Linked DNA regions of Homo sapiens: regions 1, 3, 4, 5, 6 and 7 are each linked to region 2. Evidence: promoter capture Hi-C in 16 types of primary human blood cells and fetal thymus (Javierre and others, 2016). All regions are on one chromosome and are shown on one strand. The core of a region is centred on a gene start or on the middle of the fragment in contact, and the rest is flanking DNA. Distances in the headings are between cores, read along the strand shown. Region 1 has its middle 14 kb from the start of XCR1. Region 2 holds the start of CCR2 (C-C motif chemokine receptor 2). Region 3 has its middle 26 kb from the start of CCR9. Region 4 holds the start of FYCO1 (FYVE and coiled-coil domain autophagy adaptor 1). Region 5 overlaps FYCO1 (FYVE and coiled-coil domain autophagy adaptor 1). Region 6 has its middle 56 kb from the start of XCR1. Region 7 overlaps FYCO1 (FYVE and coiled-coil domain autophagy adaptor 1).

What was found. Contacts are between HindIII fragments. The CHiCAGO score rates a contact against its expected background, and 5 or more counts as called.
Region 1: a fragment that was not itself captured here is called in contact with the fragment with the promoter of CCR2 in region 2 in 1 of 17 cell types (monocytes); the score reaches 5.2 in monocytes.
Region 3: a contact is called between a fragment that was not itself captured here and the fragment with the promoter of CCR2 in region 2, in 2 of 17 cell types (neutrophils and naive B cells). The highest score is 6.1, in neutrophils.
Region 4: the fragment with the promoter of FYCO1 here is called in contact with the fragment with the promoter of CCR2 in region 2 in 7 of 17 cell types (monocytes, neutrophils, naive B cells and 4 more); the score reaches 13.8 in monocytes.
Region 5: a contact is called between a fragment that was not itself captured here and the fragment with the promoter of CCR2 in region 2, in 1 of 17 cell types (neutrophils). The highest score is 5.2, in neutrophils.
Region 6: a contact is called between a fragment that was not itself captured here and the fragment with the promoter of CCR2 in region 2, in 6 of 17 cell types (M0 macrophages, M2 macrophages, monocytes and 3 more). The highest score is 11.2, in M0 macrophages.
Region 7: a fragment that was not itself captured here is called in contact with the fragment with the promoter of CCR2 in region 2 in 10 of 17 cell types (neutrophils, M1 macrophages, naive B cells and 7 more); the score reaches 10.2 in neutrophils.

What each region holds. Positions count from the first base shown.
Region 1 is chr3:46,012,617-46,015,316 of GRCh38, reverse strand. No RefSeq gene overlaps it. Among named protein-coding and RNA genes, the nearest start is that of XCR1, 14 kb to the left of the region's middle. The HindIII fragment of the contact is 3,415 bases long and covers 1-2,700 here.
Region 2 is chr3:46,352,746-46,355,445 of GRCh38, reverse strand. CCR2 (C-C motif chemokine receptor 2) reads right to left here and starts at 1,335. Exons shown (of 2, transcript NM_001123396.4): 1 at 1,269-1,335. The HindIII fragment of the contact is 10,451 bases long and covers 1-2,700 here.
Region 3 is chr3:45,910,707-45,913,406 of GRCh38, reverse strand. It overlaps a transcript of LZTFL1 not described here. Among named protein-coding and RNA genes, the nearest start is that of CCR9, 26 kb to the right of the region's middle. The HindIII fragment of the contact is 2,041 bases long and covers 416-2,456 here.
Region 4 is chr3:45,994,465-45,997,164 of GRCh38, reverse strand. It overlaps FYCO1 (FYVE and coiled-coil domain autophagy adaptor 1), which reads left to right and starts at 1,341. Exons shown (of 18, transcript NM_024513.4): 1 at 1,341-1,443. It overlaps LOC105377063 (a long non-coding RNA gene), which reads right to left and starts at 1,262. Exons shown (of 3, transcript XR_940799.3): 1 at 1,076-1,262. RefSeq lists enhancers at 1,313-1,472, 1,493-1,542, 1,043-1,542. The HindIII fragment of the contact is 2,332 bases long and covers 1-1,935 here.
Region 5 is chr3:45,955,811-45,958,510 of GRCh38, reverse strand. FYCO1 (FYVE and coiled-coil domain autophagy adaptor 1) reads left to right here. Exons shown (of 18, transcript NM_024513.4): 13 at 1-103. Among named protein-coding and RNA genes, the nearest start is that of CXCR6, 14 kb to the right of the region's middle. The HindIII fragment of the contact is 6,291 bases long and covers 1-2,700 here.
Region 6 is chr3:46,081,928-46,084,627 of GRCh38, reverse strand. It overlaps a transcript of XCR1 not described here. Among named protein-coding and RNA genes, the nearest start is that of XCR1, 56 kb to the right of the region's middle. The HindIII fragment of the contact is 8,313 bases long and covers 1-2,700 here.
Region 7 is chr3:45,932,564-45,935,263 of GRCh38, reverse strand. The region is part of intron 15 of FYCO1 (FYVE and coiled-coil domain autophagy adaptor 1); the gene reads left to right. Among named protein-coding and RNA genes, the nearest start is that of CXCR6, 9.6 kb to the left of the region's middle. The HindIII fragment of the contact is 3,840 bases long and covers 1-2,700 here.

The sequences.
Region 1 (2,700 bases), core at 180-2,679, 340 kb after region 2:
TATGCTGAGGTAAGGTGAGTTTATAATTCAATATGGCTGGTGTCCTTGCAAAAAGGGTAAATTTGGGCACAGACACAGGAGAATGTCATGTGAAGACTAGAGTTATGCTGCCACAAGCCAAAAAACACCAAAGACTGCCAGCAAGCGACCAGAAGCAAGGAGAAAGGCATGGAGCAGATTCTCCCTTACAGCCCCAGAAGGAATGAACCTGACACCTAGATCTCAGACTTCCAGTCTCCAGAACTGTGAGACAGTATATTTCTCTCGTTCGAGCCACCCAGTCATGGAACTTGGTTAATGGCAGCCGGAGCAAATTAATACAGGACACAAATTTCAGTGTGTGGGAGCGGAATCCCAGTGCACCTCCAAACCTTCCATGATGTTCCAGTGTCTCCTGCACCTACACAGAAGGCTACACCTAACTGAAGACATGCAGAGGAGATTGGAAGCTAGTGTTTACTGAGACCTACTATGTATTAGGTCCATACATTTTCACGTCTCACAGCTACCTTACGAGGTTTCTGTTTTCTCCAGTTTGACTAAGGAGGATACAAGGGACCAGAATAGGTCACACTCCAACATCCAAGGCTACATGTCAGATCACACGCGGAGCTTAAAAAATACTAATGTTGGCCGGGCGCAGTGGCTCATGCCTGTAATCCCAGCACTTTGGGAGGCCGAGGCAGGTAGATCATGAAGTCAAGAGATCGAGACCATCCTGGTCAACATGGTGAAACCCCGTCTCTACTAAAAATACAAAAATTAATTGGGCGTGGTGGTGCACGCCTGTAGTCCCAGCTACTCGGGAGGCTGAGGCGGAGGTTGCAATGAGCTGAGATTGCGCCACTGCACTACAGCCTGGCAACAGAGCAAGACTCTGTCTCAAAAAACAAAAACAAGCAAACAAAAAAAACACTAATGTCTGAGTTTCTACCCCAAAGGTTCTGATGCAATTGTTCTAGGGTGCAACCTGGCCTCAGGATGTTTTTAAAGTCTCCTGGTGGTTCTAATGTACAGCCATGTTTGACAATCACTGATCTAGTGTCTTTATTTATTCAATCATTCACTCAATGAATATTTATTGAGCAACTACTGGGTGCTAGAAACTGTGCTATATCCCTTGCACACATTATGCCACATTCTCACAATTTTACAAGGTAGGCATTGTCACTACCCAGATGAGAAAAGGGGGGCTTGGAGAGATAAATGACTTTCTTAAGTTAAAGCCAAACTCAGGTCTGTATTGTACCCAAACACCTACTCTTTCCATCACATCTTGCCAATTTCCCAAATGATATGCCCATCAGGACTCTTAACCATAAGCAACAGAAATTGCCTCTAGTTGCCACGGCAGAAGAAAATGTGTGGAAAAGATACTGCATGTGATTTCATTGTAATTGCATCAGAGATGCGGCAGGGTACAGTGTCATGATGTCTGCAACTACATCACAAATGATTCGGCAAAAAATTAAAAAAAGAAAAATGTGTGTAATTATACATTAAAATTGGAGAGAAATGACATATAGAAGAGGTTATACTCAAAGAAAGAGAAAAGCTGCTGGGTAGCTCACAAAACTGGTGGGAAGGCAGGAGAAACAGCTAGAACAAAGGGAGGTGGTCTCTGGCACAACAACCGCAGGAGCCAGAGGTTACAGTGACTCTAGAAAGACTTCTCCCACCTGCATTACAAAAAACAGGTACACGAGGCTCACAGAGTGAGCCAAGGCCACACACCCACACTCTGGCCTCAAGGGAGCTGGGAAAGAGCGCCCAGGCTTCCTTATCTCCTACAGAAGTGGGCTCTGCCTCCCACCAAGACTCGTGGTGAGGAATCCCCCCAAGCAGGGAGAGTTCAGCCACAGGATCAGCTAATGGCCACCACAAGTGTGAAAAAGGTTACTGAGGTTTTCTACTGCTCTGCCAGTAGAGAAAGCCAGTGGCTTACAGTCTAAGCCACTAAGATAGGAGGTCAGAGGTGTGACACCACTGGGCACACCAAAAACATTTTAGGATAAGCCTTTGACAAGTGATACGATCAAACCCCACCCCAAATTGCTCCCATCAGCAGTACTGCTCCCTGCCCACATCAACAGAACTACTCAAGAGACAGTGAAGCACTTGGAAAATGGCGGGCTCAATTTTCTACAATAGTACTATTGAGAATTTCCTTCCTACCAGCCATTTACTTAAAGGTTATTTCTTGGTAGCAAAGCTGAGTTTTTCCAAAGAGGTTTTTCAATTTCTTCTCATGTCTTAGATGGAGTTGATTTCCTTTATTCTGAGTGTCAAGAGCCAGTTTGAAAATAAAAGAACTTGGGCCGGGTGCGGTGGCTCACACCTGTAATCCCAGCACTTTGGGAAGCTGAGGCAGGTGGATCACGGGTCAAGAGTTCAAGACCAGCCAGGCCAACATGGTGAAACCCCATCTCTACTAAAAATACAAAAATGAGCTGGGCGTGGTGGCGGGCACCTGTAATCCCAGTTACTCGGGAGGCTGAGGCAGGAGAATCACTTGAACCTGGGAAGCAGAGGTTGCAGTGAACTAAGTCACACCACTGCACTCCAGCCCGGGTGACAGAGCAAGACTCCATCCCCCTCCCCCCACCAAAAAAAAGGAAAGAAAAAAGAAATTAAGAGCAATTTATTTTTCCACTCAGAAAAAAAAAGACTTTGTTACACTGTCTTGGCCAAGGAAATACT
Region 2 (2,700 bases), core at 86-2,585:
CAGCCTCACCTCCAGTCCCTTCTCCAATCCCAAATCCTGTGCTTCAGTCACAGCCATCTTCTCTTCATTTTCCCTAAACTCACCATTTCCTTCATGCTTCAGTGGTTTTGCAGGTCCTTGCCCCTCTGCCCAAAATGATTGGTGAGCTTCTATTCACCCTTCAATACCTCCTGCTCAAATCCCCCTTCTCTGTGAAGCCTAATCTGTATCCTCTGTCATATTACTCTTATCACATAACACTGCATGCATCTAGATAAGCACTTATTATGTTATCTGCTACACACAGCATGTTCCTCAAGATCAAGGACTGGATTATGCTTCTATTTTCAGCTCTTATGATAGTACCTGGCTAAAGGAGGCACCAATAAATGTTCACTGAATGAGTACATAAAACTCTTTATAATAAGAACTATAAGCCCTAACATCATCAGGACTTGATTCTCAAGAATTTTTTTTCTGGCAGTGACTGTGAATTTCTTTTCCACCCACCTGTATACTTTATCCTTCCATTTCTCTTGCAATTGACACTTTTCACAAGTCTTGTATTTCATATCACTGAGCCAGATTCTTGAAATCTGGAGAAGCTAAATAAGACCTCTGATCAAAGTTGGAAAAAAATGCATCTGCCTAAAGAATCACAACTGTGGTCATTAATTGAGTGCTCCTGAAGCTCAGATGCTATGTTAAATGCTGTGCACACATTACTTAATTTCATTTTTACAACTGGCTAGCATGTAGCTTCTACTACAGTGAACAATGAGCAAGATGCCTGAAATGTGCTGTCCTAGGTGTCATTTCAAGTGTCAGAACATGTCACCCAGAACTGATAGAAATCTATCTTTCAGAAAATAAATTCCTTACTTCTGCCTCTGTGGATCTCCTGAGTTGAGGCAAGGGACACATTTTGGTTCAGAGCTTGGATGGTCCTATATTTAGACTAACAGTTCCAGCTCTTTAACGTCCTTGGGTGCTCAGAGGGGCAGAGTGAGCCCCTGGGTGTGTGGACTGGTGACTGAGCAGAGTGGCTGTCCTGGCCTCGCTTGCTGCCCACTCTCCCCCATCACCTGCTGCACGCTGCTCTTCCTCAGGGTTTCTCTAACATCTCCTGGTGCACATGCCATCCCCACCCCTGCCTCTCATCTTGATCATTCCCCCCAAGTGTGCAGGCTTTGCAGTTCCCCAGGGTGTACCCAGACCCGGCATTTCCAGCTTTGAGGTGCGTTGAGCCTATGAATCAGAAAGTAATGGAAAAAATGCCTACAACTCACCAGCTTGTGGCTTGTCTCAGGCAGTCCTGGTATGTCAGGCTTCTCAGCAACTGAACCAAACAGATCTAGAGGTAGAAACTTGGCATGCAGAAGTAGGAAATAAAGTTTCCTGCAGAAAGTGAAGGCGGAGATACAGGGCAACTAATGGTAAAGATTTGAAAAAAAAAATCAGAAAAATATAGTTCTTCTTTTCCAGTCAGGAACATTGTACATTGGGTTGAGGTCTCCAGAATAGGATTAATTTTGAAATCTTGCTTATGCAACCTTGAGTGTGAGTCAGGCAAACCCTGTACATCTGCTCCTGTTTCTAACGACTCTGAGCTTCTTTATCTTGTGGGTCTTTATACCTGGAACATTTCCACTCTCTGCTCTCCTACTAGTGATAATTTGCATGATATGAGCACAACAGAATGTTTCATGTTCCAGAGAATAAAGGGTATTGGTGATAGTGGAGGAAGTATAATGAGGTTTTACTGCGATCATGTGTGCTGGTTTCAGTGGTATCATGGATTCAGAATCTGGTTAGAAATTTCATTTAGATAAGACTTTAAAATTTTTTTTTATTTAATTCACATAATAATTGTATATATTTATGGGACACAATGTGATGTTTTGCTACATGTATACATTGTGCAATGATCAAATCAGGGTAATTACATATCCATCCTCTGAAACATTTATCATTTCTTTTGAAATAATAATGATATTGAAAACCCTCTCTTCTAGCTATTTATATATACAGAATTCATTATTAACTACCGTCACCCTACTTGGAGCAGAGCACCAGCACTTGTTTCTCCTATCTCATGGTAACTTTGTACCCGTTGATCAACTGCTGCCCATTCTCACCTCCTCTCTTTCCTCCCCAGTCTCTGGTAACCACTGCTCTACTGTCTTTTTCTAAGATAGCAACTTTTTTTTTTTTTTTAAATTGGGTTTCATTCTGTCACCCAGACCGGAGTGCACTGGCACAGTCTCAGCTCACTGCTACCTCCACCTTCTGAGTTCAAGCCATCCTCCCACCTCAGCCTCCTGAGTAGCTAGGATTACAGGTGTGTGCCATCATGCCCGGCTAAGCAACTTATTTAAAAAAAAATTCCACATAAGAGTGAGATCACGTGGTATTTGTCTATCTGTGTGTGGCTTATTTCACTTAACATCCTCTAGGTTCATCCACATTATCACAAATTACAGGATTTCAAACTTTTTAATGAAAAGGAAATGCTAAATTATCTCTTGTGTCAGGAACGTCCTTAGCAAGAAGAACCTCAGTTATTTTAAATGCCCCTCCTTGGAAAGACGTTTTGTTAAAAGATAATGTAAATTTTGCAATGGGGACATCAGACTAGGAGCATTCCTAAGATTGTGCAGAGAACATGGTGTCATCTAAGTTGGCCCCTGGCACTTTCTGGAATCCAGCAGACACCGGAGG
Region 3 (2,700 bases), core at 187-2,686, 440 kb after region 2:
GTAATTCTATTTTATTGTTTGCATTTTAAAGCATTCTGAGAAAGGGGCTATAGGCTTTGTCAGATTGTCAAAGGTGTGGATGAGGCCAAAAAAAAAAAAAAGTTAAGGATCTTTAGGTTGTGGCAGGTCCTCATGAAAAACAAGAGAAAGATCAGCTCATTGCAGCACTGGTTTGTTAATAGTAACAATAGTAGCATTGTTTAATTTGTGTAATTGTATAATTTTCTAGGCTCTTGCTGTAAGTCAGCCCACTTTTACAGATGAGGAACCAAGACCCAGGGAAGATGGTAAGTCTGAACCATTTACAGAACATATTACTGCTACTGCGTTATGCTGAGACAGCTGTAGGAGTGGTTTTCTCTAAACCATTCTCATTTTACTTGAATTTAGATTATCTGATGACTTATAAAAAGCTTTTCCATAAACCAGGATTTGCTATGGCAGCCCTTGACCTTCAGACCTTTATTATGATTGTTAATACAAAAGGCTGTATCAGTTACCTGTTGTCAGACCAAGCTGCATTATTCTGCGTTATTTGAAGTTGGATAACCTCAAAACCGTGGCTTAAATCACTGAAGATTTATTTTGCTCACGAATATGCAGGTTGACTGGGGGCTCTGGACTCTTGGTGGGCTCACTCCCTTGTCTGCCCGTGGTCAGCTACGCATTGAGGCTGTGCTCCCACATGTCTGAGGGTTGGCTGCTCATTGGCTAATCGTGGCTGGGGTTGACTCCTACATCTGTGGTCAGTTGGTCAAAGAAAGGCTGGCTAGGCTAGGATGGTCTTGGCCAGACAACTTGGCTGTACTCCATGTGGTCTCCCTGACCCCAACAGGATAGCCTGGGCTTATTCAGATGGCCACTGAGCAGGTTTCCAAGAGAGTGAGTAAAAGTGCCCGAGCTTCGCAAAGCCCAGTCTCAGACCTGGCACATCATTTCAACAGTGTTCTGTTGGTCAGAGCAAGTCACAGGCCAGCCCAGATTCCAGGTGTGGGAAAAGGGACTCCTCTGGATGGGAGGAACTGCAAAGTCACTTTATAAAGGGCACAGGGACAGTGAGGGGTAGAGAATTGGGACCATTTTTGTAATATTTCTACCAAAGAGTCTATAATCTTCCCTTCTTGCACATATTTCCACCTCAATTTTCATCTTCAGTAAAACACCCACCTTCTCCTCCAGATACACTCATACAAGTACGCAAAAACACACGCAACAATCTTCATGGCCACAATGTCTGTGATAGCAAAAAACAGGAAAGGATTTGTTCAAAGTGGGTTGGATTGAAGCAGTATATGACGGCACCCTGGGAGACTATGTGACGAACACTATTCACACCCATGCGACATTTCCTGACAAAGACGCTGGACACAGCAGTGGCTGCCTTGGCAGATGGAGCTGGTGGGGCTTTGGAGTTGGTGGCAGGAATAAGATGCTTTTACTTTTCTCTTTATACTTTTCTATGTCGTTTGAAGTATTTTTAGTAGGTGCCAGTTTAACTTTTAAAATGCGAAAACTAATTTCTAAAAAGACATTCACATCATCTTACGGCCATCTCAAATTCCCAGTAAAAAACCAAATGCCCAATTCCTATATGCTGGAGTCATTACACAGTTGTTGATGTCTTTCTGCATTCACCAAAGGGGTGACCTACTTACCAGCAAAGCTGAACGGCATAAAGCCATGAGCGGGGAGGGCCTGGGAGGAAGCCACAATATGGCCAGAGTTCCTCTTCCCCTGCCTAGGGGCTGGCCCAGCTAGGGCCCCCTGTCCTCCTGACTCAGGGCCTTTGTGAGAAGAGCTATATCCAGATCATATGGTGCAAACTGACCACTGGAACATCAGTGCTTGAACTTCAACTGGGGAGAAAGTACAACAGCCTCTAAGAGATTGGGTTCTAGAATCAGAAAGACGTGGATCCAACTCCTAGTGCCACTACCTACTTCCTCTGGCTTGGGACAAGTCACTTAGCTACTCTGTGCCTCAAAATGTGATAGCTGTTATCATTGAGAAAGACATCCACACCTTGTCCAATCCCTTTTACTCTCTTGGCTCTTTTGATTACTTCTGGGCATTAGTCAGCTAGTCAAGTTGGGGGACCGAGTGATTGGGATCATTGAAAGATGAGTTAATTTACAGAGTAGCCACCTTTGGTGATTTTAAAATATGGCCCTAGAGTTATTTGACACCCTTCCAATAAGAGGTGGAGTCTCGAGTCCCTTGACTCCGGGCTGGCCTCTGGCTGCTCTGACCAGTGGAAGAGCAGAGGGACACTGTGTGGCTTCCGGTGCCATGTCAGAAAAGGACCTGCAACTTCCCCTTGGTTCTCTTGCACAGGGGAAGCCAGCTGCCATGTAAAAGGTCTGAGTACCTTGAGCCCTCCCTGCTGAAGCTGCCGTGTGCTGGGGCCCTGCATGGCAGCCAGCATCAACTACTGGCCCTAAGCCAGTAGTTAAGCTTTCCAGTTAAGCTTTCCAGTGGCCACAGCCCCAGCCAATATCTAACTGCAGCCACATGAGAGACCCCAAGCTAAATATGCCCTGCTGAGCCCCTTCCAAATTCCCGGCTCACAAAATGGCGAATAAAATAAAATGGTTATTGTTTTTATACCACTAAATTTTGTGGCAACAGTTACCAGGACACAGCTGAATTGAATACAAGCAAGGTTCTTAGAATCACTTCTTTCATTTAATTGCAAATGAA
Region 4 (2,700 bases), core at 92-2,591, 360 kb after region 2:
CAGGTGCGGTCCACTGCTCAGTGTGTGGGGAAAACCCCACACACATCTGGTCACCAAATTATTCTCCTGTGTTGATGATTGCTGTTGTGTAAGAGTAGAGGAAAAATACGGTTTGAGGGAGGTTTTTTTTTCCCCACACAGTTTCAAACAAGGATATTGGACCAGATGACCAACATTAAAATCTCTCTCATCCTTAATATTGCATGAAGCTGTTCAGACAGTGGTTGGAGCAATGATTTCTCTTAGACCACTACATTGATTACTTTTCTCTTTGTCATCTTCTCACTCCCCCCGTTTTCTTTCTGTTCTCCTTTCTGTTAACAAGAGTGGAAATCACTTCTATTCATGTACCTCCTCCCAACCCCACCCCCAAACTGACTACTCCATCCATCCAACTCACTGTTTTAGCTACATCTAATTTATAAAATTAGATGGCTAATGAGATGTCATAGCCTAAAATCGACTAAGAAATTGATTTTCTTTCTGTATTATTGTACCCAGACAACACCCTGCTTCCTCAGTTTAGAATGTTGGGCCACCACGGTTCCTGACTGGATACCACGAGCTAGGTCCTACAAGGGAGAGAGCTGTTTCTGGCTTAAATGATGAGAACTAGGGCAGAGAGTAAAGGATAGCCAGCCACAGCTAAGGAATGCAGTCAGTTAGAAGCCAAAGTCCCCGTGTAGTGTTCCTCTTTTCTACTGTGCCCATAGCGGACACTGATTGAATGCATTTTGTTCTATCGTATTCAGTTCCACAGTGCTTTGCAACACCCATCTTATAAATAGAAGTTGGGCTGAGGATGGGGCCAAAGTTAGGGGTGGTAGTTCATAAACACGTAGTTTTTGAGCACTAATTTTAAGTAAGACCCTGATATTAAGAAATAAGGGGGATTAAAAGATGGGAAATTAGGCCCACCAATACATGTTTTTCTATTTCCCAATATATCAAAATATTATCATTTTAACATGCAATCACTAAAAATTAATGAGCTAGTTAACATTCTTCGGACTCTTTGGTACCTAGGTGTATTTCACACTTACAGCACGTGCACGATTCAACTCGAACTAGCTACCTTTGGAGTGCTCCTTAGCCACACAAGAACAGCGTTGTTGTCAAGATGCCAGACCTTTGATTTGTGGCCCTCCGGGGTTGCAGGCGTTAACCTGGGGCCAGCATGGGTCGCGGGTGGGACAGTCGGTCCGGGGACTGGGCGGTGGGAGCACTTAAACCCCGCCCTGCGGAGTCGCCGGGAGTTGTAGTCGGAGCCCCGGGAGTCCGATGGGAGTTGCAGGCCTCAGCCCCGGGGAGCACGCCGGGAGTTGTAGTCCGCCCCCGCCACCCTCTTGGTGTGCGCGTCATGGCCGTCAGCACCGCGTTCCCGTCCTCTTCCGCTTGGCCCCAGAAAGTTTCGGTTCTGCCCGGCGGTGGACCCACGAGCGCGTAAGTGCCGCGGAAGACCGGCTGGACTCTGGGGGCACCTGGGTCGCTCACGATCCCTGAGGCGAGAGCTTCGCTCGGGGCGCGGCTTGTCACCTGTTGCCCTTACAGTCCCCGCCCATCCCAGGTCTCCCTCAGACCCTGCCCGAGCGCCCCCGTCCTTGCCCAGCGGGCCGGGAAGCACCTCGGGCAGGTGGAAGCCGGCCCAGGCACCCAGCCTGCCTCTGTTGGTCGGTTAGAAAGACAGACCCCAAACACCAGTTCCAAGACCCCGGAGGGCGGAGGGCCCGCAAAGGAAAGGAGCCCACCATGCGGCGTCTCAGAACAAGCCTGAATGTCTTAGCGCAGGATGGGGCAGGCCCCGGAGTTCCTGCCTGCGTGGTCTTTAGGAAGTTTAGTCTCTGGCCCAGTTGGGCCGGGACAGCCCAGACCTTCACTTTGCAAGACTCCGCTGGTGCTCGGATCTCTGCCCTCTTCCCAGGAGGGGAAGAAGCTTCTTTCTTCCTGGCCCATCCTTTGGCCAAGACCTATTCACTATCCACTGCCCCTTGTGCCCATGCGCAGGGTCTCGAGCTAGCCCCCAGGGGTCTTTTCCCGAAACACCTGTTGTCTCTGGTGTGGCGGCACTGCACTGGACTGGAGTCCGTGCTGTTGAAACCTGGCGGGGGTGGGGCGGGGAGGGGGGAGGATGGCGGGATTTTATTTTTTGTAAGAAAAGCACATGTGGTTGACACGTTAACCGCGTGGCCCCCTGTTAAAGCACATGTATTCTCTGATGTCCCTGTCACTCTTCACTGTTCCCATTGGGTGTCCTCTCCAGAAAAAAAAATAGAACACTTGTTGAAACTGCCTGTGTTGGCCAGAGCCTCTCAGCCCCTCTGCTTGTCTTACCACAGCAGTTTCCTTTCCCGACAGAGAAATGGGTCAGGGGCTTTTGCGGGGCAGAGGATCCAGGGCTTAATCTGCTCACTGGTTCTCCTGCCCGTGCAGGCCTTGTGGTCTCAGGCTGCAAGCTTAATTCCCCTGCCATCTGCCTAATGCGGCTGGAGGGTGTTGGGGGCTGGTGTGGGGGAGGGGTGGGGAGCTGGAGCTATCATGCCAAGGTTTTCTGCTTTCAGTAGTTCCCACCTTCTGAAGTGGACCCCTGTTGAGTGAGCTCCACTTGACCCTCCCTTCTGTGACAACCACTGTTCTGAAAGCATTGAATGCCCCATACTAGTTGTGCACCGTGGTTATTATCACCCTGAAAATAAGAGCTAA
Region 5 (2,700 bases), core at 1-2,500, 400 kb after region 2:
GGCCCTGGCTCCCCTGATAGCAGTGGCTCAGGCACTAGCCAGGGAGAGCCCAGCCCTGCACTGTCACCAGCCTCACCTGGGCCCCAGGCCACAGGAGGCCAAGGTCAGTCTCCTGCTACTACTGCCTACTATGTTCTCTAGGTGCCACTTCCTCCCCTACCGATGTTGTGGCTAGTTAGTGCTAATAAGCTGAATTCAGTGTTTTCTAAACTTAGGTATTAAAGAGGTGCTAAAATATATTACCACCAACTTGAGACTTTCATTTTGATATATTAGGATTGAAAGAGAATTGAAAAAGGAATAACTTTGCCCTGATAAGATTCAGTGTGATTTAACCTGAAGTCTATGTACCTGTTAATGCACATTCATGAAATACACCCCATGCTTTGGAGAATGCCGTCTACCAGAGCTGCAGCCTTGGCATCCAGAGTAACTCAAGGCTAGGAGTTGTGTCTGGAACCATCCATATCCTTCAGTCTCTTCCTGAAGCTCGCTCTTCCTTCATGTCCAAGGAGGATGTAATCTCCTTTGTGTCCTCCCACTCAGCCCAGTGAAGGAAGTAGAGTTTGGGTTCTGCTGCTTCGGTTTTGAGCACACCCTAGCAGACAGGCCTGGGCTGCCCTTCCGGGCACTGGACTTTGAATGTGGAACACAGGGAGGCAGAGCTGAGACGGCACAGGCAGAAGTGGTCTCAGCTCGTCTCTGCTCGAGCATCATTGCCATCTGCAGCTGGTCCCTGTGAACTCCTCCTTGGCCTCTGCCTGGATGCAGGCCAGCCAGCCTTTAGAAATACTGTCCATTCCTCTTTTGTTTGAGTGGATTACCAAGTGGTTGGCAGGCCCCATTATGTTGTTGGGTACAAAGAACTGACAAGGATGGGGAGTGTACTTTGCACAGCTTTAGTTTATCTTCTTCAAATCTTTTGCCCATTTTAAAATGTTTTTTAAGTATTGAATGTTGAGAGTCCTCTGTATATTCTCTATGCAAGTTCTTTGTCACATATGTATTTTACAAGTATTTTTTCCCAATCTATAGCTTATCTTTATATTTTCTTTCAAAGAGCAAAAAAGTCTTCAAAGAGCAGAAGTTTATCATTTTAATGAGGTCCAATGTATCAGGTTTTTTCTGTTATGCATAAATGTTTTTCTTTTTGTTGTCATGTCTGGCTTTACTTAGCCCAAGGACTCACAGACCTTCTTCTGTTGTCGCTTAGAAGTTTTACAGCTTTAGCTTATACATTTAGGCCTATGATGCATTTTCAGTTATCTTTGTGTATGGTGCAAGGTATGAATAGAGATTCATCTTTTTGTATGGCTGTCCAGTTATTTCAACACCATTGATTGAAAGACTGTTCCTTGCACCTTTGTCAAAAACCGACCTTATTTTTTTTTATGCTGCCATGAGAAAGTAGGCAATTGACCTTATATGTGTGGATTTATATCTGGACTTTTATTCTATTCCATTTATCTATGTGCCTATTCTTTCACTAATACCAAACTGTTATGATGACCATAGTTTTATAAAGCATCTTAACATCACGTAGAGTGACTCCAGTTTTGTTCTTTATCAAAGTATTGGCTATTCTAGGTTTTTTGTTTTTCTATATAAGTTTTAGAATCAGTTTGTCAATTTCTACAAAAAATCCTGGTGATATTTAAATTGAGATTGCATTGAATCTCTAGTTCAGTTTGGGGAGAATTGACATCTTAATAAAATTGACTCAGTCCATGAACATGATACAACTTTCTATTTATTTAAGTCTTTGGTTTCTCTCAGTGGACATCATTTTAGATCCCTGCTGTCTGCTTTCCCTTCCCTCTGCCAGCCTTACAAGGCAGGTTCAGGAGTGTGGCTGAATTGATGGAAAAAAAAACAATCCCTGGCCCCTTTTTTCAGCCTATGCCTCAAGCTCTCTATTACACAGACTTGAAACAAGAAGAAGAACTTCACTTCTAAAGCAGGGCCTGCCTTAGTGGTCATGTGGCAGGTCCAGGTGGGAACTTTAAGCTCACCTGAACCATTTTTCTTGCTAAACACCCCAGGAACTTTGCATGGGCTTGCCCTGACTCATTAGTGACCACAGAGTGCTGCGGTCACTTGTTTTGATTTTTGACATTTCCTGTCTACTCATTTATTTATTTATTTATTTATTTATTTATTTATTTATTTATTTTTGAGACTAAGTCTTGCTCTGTTTCTCAGGCTGGAGTGCAGTGGTACGATCTCGGCTCACTGCAACCTCTGCCTCCTGGGTTCATGTGATTCTCGTGCCTCAGCTTCCTGAGTAGCTGGGATTACAGGTGCCCGCCACCACACCTGGCTAATTTTTATATTTTTATTAGACACAGGGTTTCATCAAGTTGGCCAGGCTGGTACTGAACTCCTGGCCTCAAGTGATCCACCCACCCCGGCTTCCCAAAGTGCTGGGATTATAGGCATGAGCCACAGCACCCAGTGTTTTTTTCATTTTTGCCTCAAACCTGCTCTCACATTTTTCCGTGACATATGCTGGAGAGTGTTTGTGGGCAGATGACTGGTACAGGAACATTTCTACAGTGGCCTTCCTACTAAGTGGTTTGCACAGTCGGACACAAGGCCCCTGGTTGGAAACCCAGTGCCTGCTGCAAGCCCTTGAGCACTGGGAGGTTCTTTCCCACGCATCAGTGGATTAAGGGAAAATGCAGGTCAGACAGACTCCTG
Region 6 (2,700 bases), core at 83-2,582, 270 kb after region 2:
CAAAAAGAAAGCAAGGAGTGAGCTGATAAAAAGTTGGCAGGAATTCTCATTGGTTTATAGAAATTACATTGATTAGGGATTGGCTTTACATTGTTGAGCTGGAGGATATGAGTTATGGCGTCCAGTGCATGGCATTTTATAGCTACTTGGCATCAGTTAGTCTAGAGTCCACATAGCAAGTGGCTTCAAGAGGTAATTACTTAGCTCAAGGGAGGCATGAGATGTGATAGCTTTTCATTCCAATGCTTTTCTGGGACTGATAATTTAAAAGGGCTCACATTCCTATGATTAAAAGTTTCCTTTTGCTCTCATTTCCTTCCTTTTGATCACAAATTTTTCTCCTCAAAAGCACTGATGATACAAATCTGAGTGCCAGCTTGTCCCTTGTCACCAGGAAGGCTCATTCCTGGGTAGCCCTGTCCCACATGGGGGAGTGGAGACATCTCAGTGAGGAATTTTAAGAGCACCAAAAAGCTGAATCAGGATGACAATACAGAATGGCAAAAGTGAGTCCACAAAGTATTGACTTACATAGCTGCTGTTGTTTGCTCCATCATCGCCAGTCTCTGGAATACCATGATTTTCATTTTCTCAGAAGAAATAAAACAATGAAAGATATCTAGCATTAATTGGAATAATAGAAATATATAATGCACATAGGATTAGAACCAAAAAGAGAATTTTTATGCCAGAATGAAAAAGGAATCTAGTCTGTTAAGAGTCAACTAAAAACCTCCTGAAGAAAATTAAATCTCAGTTTTTCTTTAGAGACCTGTAGTCAAGCAGCTTCTTCCCTGATTTTTCCTAGGTGAGTTTCTACTTCATGGGAAATACTTATGTATATACAACAAGAGGTATTTGCCACCACATATCCACCTCCTTGCTCAGCTAATATAGAATCTAAAGCAATGTGATTGTCTAGCACAACCTTAGTCAGTAAATCTGTAGCTTTTTGTTGAGCTGTGATGGAGACAGCAGTTTCATCAGCAATGTTTCCTAGGGTTTTAGAAGGATTTTAGATCATGTGTTCATGGGAAGTTACATCCAACAAAGGCAAAAGTATTCTCAAAGAAAAAAAAATGCATGGAGCTATCTTCTTGATGGCCAGCCAGATAATTAGCACATTTTCTCTAAATAGAATCTCCATCTAAGGTAGATCTGCAGTCATGCCTAGAGAAAAGTTTGAGGGAACTAGTCCAGTGCTGAGTTTCTTCAGAGCTGTATATAGAGAGAAGGGTAACGAAATATCCTAAGACATATTGCCCTTCAACATTCCATGCTCTTAGACACTTACAGGACCATGGCTGGTGATTTTCTCCACAGACTATAATAAATCCTGGTGGAGCACAGATAAGTACACTATAATTTAAGAACATCAGTTTTGAGGCATTACTGGATCAATGGGTCAGAAATGTTAAAGCAAGAAGACAGGATCCTGATAGCTGGAGGGGCTGTTTTCTTTGGATTTTCTAACAACATCATGGATTTTAGTACTGTCATTAGTGAGTAACGCAGCAGTGATTTTTGACAAAAGAATTCTGATGAGTTACATTGAAACATAGGACAAACAGGTTAGGATGAGTCAGGCAGACCTGATTAACAGGTTTGCTTTTATGTGGCCCTGAGTTGTGTTACAAGTGCTATCATGAACACTGGTGAAATTTAGGGCAGAATGTACCAGTGGGTCATTGTGGTCAAAAGTAGTTTTTGGTTTAGGGTAGCAAACCCAGCATCTCTTCAGATTTCCAGCAGTGGCAATGGTGTGTGGGATTCTGATCAGAGAATTATCCCTCCATGCTACAGTCAAATTTATCAGGGACGGCAAAAACAGAAACCTAGGCCAGGTGCAGTGGCTAATGCCTGTAATCCCAGCACTTTGAGAGGCCGAGGTGGGAGAATTACTTAAGGCCAGGAGTTTGAGACCAGTGTGGTCAACATAGCAAGACCCTTCTCTACAATTTTTTTTTTAATTAGCTGGGTGTGGTGGTGCACTTCTGTTGCCCCAGCTACTCGGGAAGCTGAGTCGGGAGGATTGCTTGAGCCCAGGAGTTGGAGGCCGCAGTGAGTTATGATCATGTTACTACATTCCAGCATGGGCAACAGAGCAAAACCCCATCTCTAAAAAAAGGAAAAAAAAAAAAAAAAAAAAAAGGAGCCTGATTATAGGCATTTGTTTACATATATCCTAAGAGAATATATGTGTGTGTGTGTGTGTGTGTATGCATGTATATATGCACATATAAATATATATATGATGATTTTACCAAAACAATTTTATCCAAGAGAGGATACTCACAGTATGGAGGCCTAACGCCATAAGTATTCCAGTCAATAGAAAAAGGAGAGCAAATATTTCAGGTGTGGTAGGCATTAGAATCATGAAGAACAAGTTATACAGGCTTGGTCTGGTATCTTGGGTGAAAACAGGTGACCACAAATGTCAGCTACTTTCCATTCTGGTCAGGAAGACTGCAAGTCAATTCCACTAAGATCTCCCATGATGAAAGACGTCCCCTCAGGTAGGGTTGTCTTTTTAAAATGAGAAATATGAATCTATGCATCAATGCCTTTAAGTTTAGTGGCACAGGGATTGGCCAATAGTACCTGATATGGTCCCTTCCCACTGGGTGAGAAGGAATCTTTTATTCGACATCCTTTCCAGTAATCAAAATCTCCACATATTCTCACTTGTAAGTGGGA
Region 7 (2,700 bases), core at 167-2,666, 420 kb after region 2:
AGGATGAGAGCCAAAGTGGGGAGACCAGTTGGGAGGGTATTAGAGGAATCCTTGTTCCTTGGACCAAGTGTTGGCAGAGAGGGCAGAGACCAGGGCAAATTCTGGACCTATTTTGAAGGTGGTGCAGACAGAATTTCCTGAAGGTTTAGATGTGGTCGTGAGAGAATAATCTATTCCACCAGTCCTCAGGTGACCTTGGACCACACTTGGACAAACACTATATTGAATTATGGGGCAGACCAAGCAGGAAGAATTAAATAGCTAGCCCACTCACAAGCTGTTGATGCTGGGGGAGTATGAAGTGTCAGGGCCACCCTTTCTGGAGAGCAACTTGGCTGCAGAATGTACCAAAAGTTCAAGAATTGCATTTTCTCTTTGATGCAATGGGCCTGTGTCTGGGAATTTATCCTGAGGAAATAATGACTGGAGGTGCAAAGATAAAGCTACCAAAATGTCCCTTGCATGCTACTCACAGCAGTGACAATTAGAAATAGTAACAGAGAACTTGGGTGGTCGTGAATGGCTGTTGAATTTTGCCAGATCTTTTTTCTACATCAATTGATAAGATCATAGGCTTTTTCTTCCTTAGCCTGTTGATATGATGGATTGCATTGATTGACTTTCATATATCAAACCAGCCTTGCATACCTGGGATAAATCCCACTGGCTGTGGTATATAATTCTTTTCACACACTGCTGGATTTGACAGAATATCTAAAGGATGTTTGCCAGATATAGAATTGAAAGTTCTTTTCTTTCAGCATTTGAAATATGTGTGCTGCTACTTCCCTCTGGCCTCCATGGTTTTAGATGAGAAATCCCCTGGCATTCAAATTGGTATTCCCCCATAGATAATAAGTTATTCCTCTCTGCCTGCTTTCAAGTTTTTTCTTTGTCTTTTGTTCTTAGACGTTTAATTATGATGGGTCTTGGCATGAATTTCTTTGGGTTTTTCCTATTTGGGGTACACTCAGCTCTTAAATCTCTAGGCTTATCTGTCATCATATTTGGGAAGTTTATAACCATCATTTCTTTGAACATTTTTTCAGATGCACTCTATTTTCCCTCTCCATTTGGGACTCCAGTGATACAAATGTGAGATCTTTTGTCCTTGCCTTGTAGATTCCTCAGGCTCTGTTCTTTTTCCTTGCACCCTGTCCCCCAATTCTCTTTTCCCTGTGTTGTTCAGATTGAGGAATTTCTGTTTTTCTCTCTTCAAGTATAACTGTCATCTTTATTCAGCTATTGAGTGTCCAGTGATTTTTTTTTTATTTTGGTTATTGTAATTATTTAGTTCTAAAATTTCCATTTGGTACTTTTTTATATCTTCTGTTTCTTTGGTATGAGTTTTCCACTGTTTTATTGTTTCAAGAACATTTAAAATTGTTACTGAAGCATTTTTTTTGATGGCTGCTTTAAAAGCCTTGACAGATAACTCCAGCATCTGGTTGATGTCAGTGTCGGCTTCTGTTGATTGTCTTTCCTCATGCACACTGTGATTTTCCTGGCTCTTAGGATAACGAGTGGTTTTTTATTATGTGTAGGTGGGGGGCTCAGAGACGCTAAGCTGTTGTGATTTTCCTCATATTCTGGGGGTCCTTAATCAGTCCGCCTTCCTTCTCCTGCCCTTCACTTTTACTACAACTGCTGAATCATTTTCAGTTTTTTTAGTGGCATTTAATGGGAAAGAACAGGGAAATGTTTGAAATCATTTATAATAAAACTGGTAAAAAACCTACCCTCAAGTAAAGGAATGAGGAAAGTTATGAGATTTAGAAATAACTAGACCACACAGATCCAAGGCAGGTCTTTGAGGAGAATAAGACAGTATGGAGAATAGGTCGGCTGGACATGGGAATAAAATGCAAGGAGAATGACAACACCTTGAAAGTTATTTTTTTCTGCCTCTTTCAAAGAGAGTGACAGCAAGCTAAGGATTAGCAACAACATCATGAGAGCATCTGAAAACATGTTAAAGGTTGGGATTATCTCAGAACACTGCAAATGTGTTGGTACCCCTTGACTCATGTAAACTGAAATTTCTTAGGTCACTCAGTGGAATTCACATCTGTGACATGAGCCTTATAGACAATAGGCATCTTAAGATTATATTATATTTGAGCAAACCTTTGATTTGTTTTTGTTAAGATCTGCTTTGGAGAGGCTGAGTATTGTCCTTGTCACTGAATAGATGATGTCTAGATGATGTCTAGACTAGATGATTGAGGCACAATCCAAATACCTGGGTGCCAGGGGAGAATTCTGGAGCATAAAATTATAAAATGCTCCAGCATTAATGTATTAATGGGGCATTATGTCAGGGTAAGTGACTTTTTACATGGTAATATGGTAAGATTTCCACATTACAAGAAAGATGTCTGTTCCAGAATGGACCCCCCAAACCTGCCCTCAGATTCTTGAAAATTGTAAATGTTGGTCGAGGGTTCTTAATTAGAAATAAAATTTAACACATGGAGAAGTATCGCATTGAATTGAATTCTCACAAAGGTGAGTATTGGAGCTGTTCTTTAAAGCATCCTGGTTTTTTAATCATTTCTTACCGTTCTCATTAGCTTTGGGGAGTCTGTCCATTCATCTCCACAGCTTTGGAGGCAGATGAACGCTCAGCACCACCACTTGCTGCGCAGTGTTGGGCAAGTTACCTAACCTCTTTGAAGTTAATTCCCTCCCCTGTGTTAA